3 separate regions of the Homo sapiens genome follow, and regions 1 and 3 are each linked to region 2. The links are contacts of gene promoters, found by promoter capture Hi-C in blood cells and fetal thymus (Javierre and others, 2016). All regions are on one chromosome and are shown on one strand. The core of a region is centred on a gene start or on the middle of the fragment in contact, and the rest is flanking DNA. Distances in the headings are between cores, read along the strand shown. Region 1 overlaps LOC101928009 (a long non-coding RNA gene). Region 2 holds the start of IVL (involucrin). Region 3 has its middle 5.6 kb from the start of LELP1.

What was found. The method cuts DNA at HindIII sites, captures the fragments that hold promoters and counts their contacts. A CHiCAGO score of 5 or more calls a contact.
Region 1: a fragment that was not itself captured here is called in contact with the fragment with the promoter of IVL in region 2 in 10 of 17 cell types (endothelial precursors, M2 macrophages, M1 macrophages and 7 more); the score reaches 13.4 in endothelial precursors.
Region 3: a contact is called between a fragment that was not itself captured here and the fragment with the promoter of IVL in region 2, in 10 of 17 cell types (M2 macrophages, endothelial precursors, M1 macrophages and 7 more). The highest score is 11.2, in M2 macrophages.

What each region holds. Positions count from the first base shown.
Region 1 is chr1:153,178,525-153,181,228 of GRCh38, reverse strand. All of the region lies in intron 2 of LOC101928009 (a long non-coding RNA gene), which reads right to left. It also overlaps a transcript of SPRR2G not described here. Among named protein-coding and RNA genes, the nearest start is that of LELP1, 24 kb to the left of the region's middle. The HindIII fragment of the contact is 461 bases long and covers 1,072-1,532 here.
Region 2 is chr1:152,907,159-152,909,858 of GRCh38, reverse strand. It overlaps IVL (involucrin), which reads right to left and starts at 1,313. Exons shown (of 2, transcript NM_005547.4): 1 at 1,270-1,313; 2 at 1-80. The coding sequence starts at 61. RefSeq lists silencers at 73-1,273, 1,646-1,698, promoters at 1,319-1,553, 1,273-2,212, 73-2,700, enhancers at 1,433-1,712, 2,631-2,700, 2,546-2,700 and a cis regulatory region at 1,467-1,963. The HindIII fragment of the contact is 6,184 bases long and covers 1-2,700 here.
Region 3 is chr1:153,196,482-153,199,181 of GRCh38, reverse strand. It overlaps a transcript of SPRR2G not described here. Among named protein-coding and RNA genes, the nearest start is that of LELP1, 5.6 kb to the left of the region's middle. The HindIII fragment of the contact is 1,093 bases long and covers 835-1,927 here.

The DNA of each region.
Region 1 (2,704 bases), core at 53-2,552, 270 kb before region 2:
CTCTGGGAGAATGTCTTCAGATCTTGTCAATAGGAAAGATTCCTTAATCAGGTAATAAAAAGCATACCAATAAGGTGGAAAAATGACAAATTGGATTTCATTAAAATTAAAAATTTCTGATTATCAAAAACACCACCAAGATTGCAAAATGCCAAGCCACAGAGATGGAGAAGCTGTATGTAATATCTATATTTAACAAAGGGCTTGTTCCCAGAACATATATACACATGTGTTCCTACTCACAGATCAACAAAAAAACAAGAAATGAGCAAATAGAAAAATATCTGAACAACCTGAACAGGCAATTCATGAAAGGGCATTTCTGTATTTCCAATAAACATATAATAAAGAGTTTAATCTCACCATTCATAAGAGAAATGCAAATTCAAGTCACAACGTGTTATCTCCACATAGCCACCGAAATGGCTAACACGAAAAAAGATAGACAATACCAAGTTTAGACAGAGTGTGGAGCAATTGAAACTTTCACACACTGCTGATGGGAATAATAGATGGTAGAAAGAATTTGGAAAAGTTAACAGTATTCACTAGAGCTGAGCATATCCCTATCCTCTGACCCAGTCATTATATTTTCCTAGGTATGTACCTAACAGAAGTGTGTACATATAGTCACAAAAGGACAAATACGTAAATATTCACATTAGCACTATTTTTAAAAATTCCAAATTGGAAACTACTAAAATACCTTTTAGCAATAAAATGGATGCATAAATGGTAGTATATTCTCATAGAGAAATACCATACAGCAATGAGAATCAACGATCTATATCTACAAACCAGAAAATGAATCAGTATCACAAACACAATTTTGGGGAAAAAAAATCCAGGCACCAAAGAGTTCATACTGTATGATTCCCTTTATATACAGTTCAGAACATGAAGAACAAATGTACAGTGTTAGATGCCAGGAAAAAGTTAATGTTTGGGGGCTGGTAGTGACTCGGACTGCTTTTGAGAACCTGCTTCCCAGGTGGACTGCTTCTGAGATGCTGGTAACATGTTATTTCTTCATTTGTGCATTGGTTGCATGGTTGTTTAGCTTATGAAGCTTTATTAAGTTGTATACCTGTACTTGGTGAGCTTTTATTAATTTATACTTCAATTTTAGTCAGTTAAAAGGTTACTTTAAAGGGAAGGAAGCCACCAGAATGCCAATATTCCTGCAACTTAGTGAACAAGGAAAGAAAGATATGATGAAGTCAGCATAAGAGTCAGTGCCACAGCATGAAGTGCTTTGTAGGACAGTAAGGTCTTCAGACTTTTCTCTAGATACAATGGCAAGATATTTGATCATTTCAATTAGGGAGGACATAATCTTCTCTATATTTTATATGATTGCTGTGGTTGTTCTGATATGGGATTGCTGTGGCACAAGATAGGAATACGGAGACAAGATAGAAATCAGGACACAAGATAGGAAACTTCTGCAGTGGTTCAGGTGAGGGTGATGGTGGCTCTAATTAGGGTAAGAACATTGAAGATAATGAGAAGATGAGAAGTGATAATAAGCTTAAGGCAGAACTTGGGATCTAGGAAGAAGTAGTATGTGGGAGGTGAGGAAAAGAGGAATAAGAGATGAATCCTAGGTCTTAAAAATTATTATTATGACTACTATCATTATTTCAAACATTATTATCCTTATTTAGTTTGTGGCATGAGTACCTTCACACACACGATGATATTGTATATTTAAAAATGAAACCATTTCACAAATGATAGGCGTGACATTGTTATATTTAAAATGAGTGGATATTATAAACAACTTCATATTGAATTCTACAACTTAGATGAAAAGCACAAATTCCTTGAAAATAAAAAACTAACACATAAATGAAAACTTGACAGCCCTGTGATGGTCTTTTGACGTGTCAGCTTGGCTGCATGACAGTCCCTAGTTACTCAATCAAATACTAATCTAGGTGTTGCTGTGAAGGTAGATGTGATTAAAGTCCATTATGAATTGACTCTAAGTAAGGGAGAAAATCCTAGTTTATACAGGCTGGTCTGATTCAATCAGTTGAAAGGCTTTAAAAGCCAAGCTAAATCTTCCCTGAAGAAATTATATGTGTGGATTACAGCTTCAGCCTATGACAGAGTTCCAGCTTACCCTCTTGATGTCCTGACTTCTGGATTTTAGACTTGCCTAGCTGCCTTTGCAATCACATAAATTGAGTCCTTGTAGTAAATCTCTGAAGTACATTTCCAACTGGTTCTGTTCCTCTCATTGTACCCTGACTGAGACAATCTCTAAAATTATTACAGAAATAAAACCCATAGTTTAAAACCTTCCCATATAGAATGCCCCAGGTCCAAAAGGATTAACTGGTGAATTATACCACACACTTAAGAAATAAAAATTTCAATCATACATAATTTCTTTCATAAAACAGAGAAAGAGGGAATATTCACCAAGTCTTTTTCAGGTTAACGTAGCCCTGATATTGAAACTTGACAAGGACATTAAATGAAAAGAAAGTTACAGATCGTTATTCCTCAGGAGCATAGAAGCAAAAATCCTTAAGAAAATATCAGTAAATTGAGTCTAGCAATATATTAAGAGGATTTGTCACAGAATGCAAGGTTTATTTAATATTATAAATGTAATTCACCAAATTAACTGAATAAAGGAAGAAATTATATCATCTGAATAGATGTAGAGAAAGCATTTGACAAAATTCAACAT
Region 2 (2,700 bases), core at 64-2,563:
TGAGGAGCTCCTGACTGAGGGCAGGGGAGAGGGTCACTGGCAGTGTGTGTTGCTGGGACATCTTAGAAGCTACTGTCAACCTGAAAGACAGAAGAGGTCTGATGCACAGGCTGAAGGCAAAGGAAATAGATGAAACCTTGGGAATCTGCAGAAGTATCTGGTTTTTTAGCATCCCCTCTTCCCTTGGGCAGGGTACTGTTCTACCACCTCTGGACTATCATTTCCCAAAAGCAGCAGAGAGAGAAGGGTGGAAATGTGGAGGGGCAGAGAAAGGTCCTCCTAGGAGCCTCCTTGTTCCCAGGTGAGAGCCAACAAGGAGATCTGTCTGCAGGGCTGTTCTGCAAGGGTGGGTCAGGTGCCAGCTCACTGTCTGCTCTTGTCTAGTCCTTGTGTCCACCCTCATCGCTTCACTGACCAAGGAGCAGAGATGCGTTCTGGGATTATGTCACAGTGAGGAGTAAGGCCTTAGGGAATGAAATGTCTCTTGGAGAACACCAAGTCCTAGAAAACCAATAGGCCGTGCCAGAGAGGACCTAAGAGGTCATGGTGTGACCTCCAGACTGGAGCCACAGGACATGCTCTAGGCCTGAATCTCCCATTGGAATGCTGTGTGTTTCTGGGCATGTCACTTAGTCTCCTGGGATTTGGTTTTCCCCCCTGTAAAGCCAGCAGGTTGGCCTATTCAACCCCAGGGCTGCTTTCTCTCCTGACCTTCTGAGGTTTAGCTGCAGTCCTTGTGTCTGGGGTGGGGCTGCGGGAGCTGGAAGGTTGCTGAGAGTTGGAGGTTGTTCTTCCAAGTCTTATACTTCTAAGTTGAGTTTTCCTGTCCCAGCTCTGCCTAGGTTTCTCCAAATAGAAAGGTTTCCCCATTCTGCCATCCCTCTGTGCAGCATAGCCAAAAGGTAGAAGCTCTTCCCTGAACCTCTCCCTCCATAAAGAAGGCAAAATGATGGTCTGTCAAAACCCAAGAGGTTTAGGAAAGAAGTTGAATGCTATTCCCCTCCTCCCTTCCATAATTCTCTCTCACACACAAATCCAAAAATATGGTCACAAGAAAAGATGGGACATAGGATGATTACTCTCTGTTCTGCACTTCTGTGCCAAGGCACTTTTCTCTCAGTACTCTGACTCGAGTCCCCCTAGAATGAAAGTCCAGCTGAATCCAGCCCCAGAGTAATGCCCACCCCCACCCAGGCTGCCCACCCCCACCACATCGTATGCTGTTGGAGGTCCCGAGTCCCAACCCTGGTTCTACCATCCGACACTTACCAGACTCACAGTAAGGCTGAGGCAGAGGCTTTGGTGGAGTGCTGAGCTGAGCAGGAGTCAGGGCACTCTTTATATCATTCTGCAGCCTGGCCTCCCTCCAGGTTGAAGGTGATGGACAGGTTTCACCACTCTAGTTGGTCAACTTCCTCTAACCCCTTCCTGACTCACCACAGGCATCTTAAGCAGCAAACCCTTTAGGGCCCCATTTCCCAGGGACACACAGCTCCTGCCTGGCCAGAGGATTCTGGTAGCTCAACTATTCCTGTGATGCTTTTCTGACCTAGGCACAGGGAGCTGAGTGAGGCATCCTACTGTTTTGTGACCTTAGTCAAACTTCTGCTCTGAATCTCAATTTTTCCACTTTCAAAATGAGTTTGTTCTCATTATTAGGCCAAAAGATTCACTTTCAAGGGCATGAAATGGAAAGTTATGTGTCTTTCGGGGATGTCCAGGCTGGGTTATATGTTTGAAGATAGAGTCACTTCCCATGAAGGGGTGGTATTTCTGGGGTGTTCTCTTGGGCCACAAGCCCTTCCTCTCTCAGAATATATTTTTTAACTCCATCCTATGTGGAAATAAACTCTGTCTTTGGTGGAGGGAGTTTGACTTTAGGCCAAGTAGAGTCAAGTAGAAGGCTTCTAGGAGTCCTCTGCTGCTGCCACTTGCTGCCCAGCCTCTATGCCCGAGGCTGCAGTTAGAGAAGTTCTCAGGAATGCCATGCTCATAAGAACTCCAAAGCACGGCCCACTCTAGGCAAGGAAACAAGATTGAATCTACACAATATAAAAATAAGTATTGCTTTTTATAATGACAAACCAAACTACTTTCTTAAGTACTTTTTTAAATGCATGAAGGTATAAAGATCAGAATCAAATCATCCATTTCCTGTTGTAAATCATACTCTAGAAATAGCTTAAGAAATCTTTCAGAGTGGGGATTTGAGCACATCTCTCCCCCGTGCCAACAGTGCACCAGCACACTTGAAATAACATTCAAACTCACTGCCGTGGTTTAAAAGACCCTGGGTACCTGGCTTCTGCCTTCTTCTGGGGCCCCAATTCATGTCAATCTCTCCCTGAGAGGTATATTCTTACCTCACTGAGGGCCTTCGGTTCCTGAGATGAGCCCAGAGCTCTCCACCTGGGGGCTTGGCACCTGCTCTCCTTCTGCCCACCGGCCCCTCCCCAGGTCTCTGGTTCTTTTATGCCTTTCAGCTTCAGTGTCAATGTTGGGGTCTGTCAGAGATCCTTCTCTGTGTACCATATCTAAAGGATTGGTACTTAATTTCACTTATAACAATCTAGAGTAATTTATTTGCATTTGTTCACTTGCTTATTGTCTATCTTTCCCACTGGAAAATAAGCTAAGAGCAGCGTATACCTGGTATGTTTTCCACTATACCCCTAGAACCTATCAAAACTACTGCATATA
Region 3 (2,700 bases), core at 132-2,631, 290 kb before region 2:
ATCCTCCCCTTTCACTGTTTATCAATCACCATTGCGTAAGTTTTTCTTGATATTTGTGTATTTTTGCTCATTCATTATATAAAGGGGGAAGAATGTTCTACGAAATCCTCATGGACATGGTTCAGGGTTTATCCTATTTGACTTTACTGCAGTAATTGTTACAGTTGTGTCCTATATTTTAACCCTCTTCCCTTTTGGTCCTCTGTGACATGGGTAGACTCCCACTTACAGCCTCATCTACTCTCCTTCCCGAGCCCTTTCTCCTCTGTTGAATCCTTTCAACATCACCTGCACCTTCATTTTTCACCCTTGCTGCTGATATTATTATCCACCATTGCTGAAAGTACCAGCTCTGCATAGAGAATCCCAAAGCCCACCCTCTTCCCTGAGCTTTAGGTCCCAATACTAACATCCATTGGATGTACTTTGGTACCTCAAGCTGATTTTACAAAATCAGAGTTCAACACCTTCCACATTTTTCCTAACATGCCCCTCTTGCTCCTCTTATGCGCTCCGACTCTGTGAATAGCATCCTGTCCACCAAGACTTAACAAGAAACCTGGGATCATCCCAGACTCTTGCTTCCTACTCAACCTCACACCAAATGTGCTATCAGGATCTGCAGATTCTACCTCCTGAGCCACAGGCTTCTAAGCCAGGGTGTGTTTGGGAGCTGCAGGCACATTTCTCTCAAGTTGGTCCCCCATTCTCTCACAGCCATGGTTGCTGCCTTTATTGTGGCATCATCATCACAGGTCTCCCTGTCTCCAAAGAGTCTCACCACTAATTCAACCCCCACAGCATTGCCGAAGTGAATTTTATAAAACAAAAGCTTAATTTTACTATTGAATTTAAGATGAGGCCCAAGGCTCTTGGTTGGGTCAACAAAACTCTTACTAATCTGGTGTCTACTTTCAGCTCGGTCTTCTACTTTTACCGTAGATTCTGGGGTAAAGCTACTTGCAGTTTCCAAAATATGCTAGACTTTTTTTATTTTTTTAAACTCCGAGTTTTTGCTCTGCCAGCCGAGTCCTCCCTCTCTCCTCCTCAACCTTGAACTCATAGGAAATTCTCCTTGGGCATGATTTCTCTCACCTTCCCAGGCAGTTAGTTGCCTTAGCCAAGCTCATTCTGAAATTTTTATCCCCATATTTTGTAGTTATTTACTTCCTGATCTACTCTCTCACATGATGTAGTGTAGAGATCAGGAACCAATTACTTTTTAAAATCTCTGTTTCTGCAGTGTCCAGTGTGTGTCTTGGCACATGTTGGCCAGGCAATAGTTAATGCTTCTTGTCAATAAGGAGATGGAATAATATTTCAATGGTTTCGCAATTGCTTTTCTCTCTAACTGGAGTATCCCCCTCCTTTTTGCCTTATTGATATTTATTTTTTATCTTCTATATACAATTTGAAAATTCCACCTTCCATGTGGACTGCTCTGGACCCCCACCCTGCTGCAGTTAAGAGATACCATCTCTGAACATGCCTGATGTGCTCCCCATGGATTGACTCCCCACCTGTTCTGCCGGGGGGCAATGCTGTCTTCTGTCTCATACAGTGCCCTAATCCAGGAAAGGGCTTTCTTATTATTCTTTGCATCTTTAGTGCTGGGCCAGGGCCTGACATATAATAGATGCTCAGTGAATATTTGGGAAATAAATGAATGGATATACAAGACAAAGTTCAGCAGGGGAGATAAGAATCAAATAAACTGTCTGTCAGAGGAGGGAGATCCAACTTTATGGAGATGGAGATCTGTTTCTCAGGGTCAGCTTCCAACATGAATATATCTGTATGAGGCCCAGAGATTCCAGGAGGCAGGTACCGCTGGGCTGTGTAGGCTGAAAATCCCAGATCTTGTTGGATTTGTCCAGGATACAGCCGCCATCTGATCCAGGCTCCCAAGCAGAGATGGACTCAAGCTTCAGCGAGTGTCCATCTCCCCTTCCCTGCAGCTAGGGTTTATCTTGCCCTGCACCTCCTCTTCATCCTCCAACATACACACACACACACACACACACACACACACACACACACACACACACATTCTCTGCCTGGTGAGACCCACTTCAGGAGAACTGGGGAGGACACAGGATGGAGTGGACTTGGCAGGGAGGTAGCTGGGCCAGGCACGGTAGGGAAGGATCCTGTGGGTAAATGGGAGTCATTCTCTTGAGTGAAGCTCTACCGGACTCCTCTGTGGAGTCCACATTTTACCTGAGGGCTCCTCCTAAGGTGCCCACCAGGCTTCTGTTTCCTTTTTCCTCCTGTGACACCATCACCTTCCCAGCTACAAGCAAGGGCAATAAACTGGGGGCCCACTGGGGCAGATGTCTTAATGGAGAGAGCAGAGATGAAGAGAAAATCCCTCAGCAGGTTGAGAGTGACTTCTGCAGGCTCAGGGCACAAAGCGAGATCTCTTTGCACAGGTAAGGAAGGCAGTGAAAAGCAGAGACCCATTTCCTTCACTGAGTGTGGGATCACAAAGTCAGGAAATTTGGGGGACATTTTCAGATGATTTGAAGTAGTTCTTGTCAATTTCTTAACCAGCTTTACAAGGTCTTCATATTTTTTAATAAAGTGGGAGGCAGCACTGTGTTTCCCTAATGATCTTCTTTTGCCACAGGAGGCAGCATGGGCTGGAACAGTAGCAGTTGGAATAAGCAGCTTTATCTAATCAAACTTTAGCTAAGATGT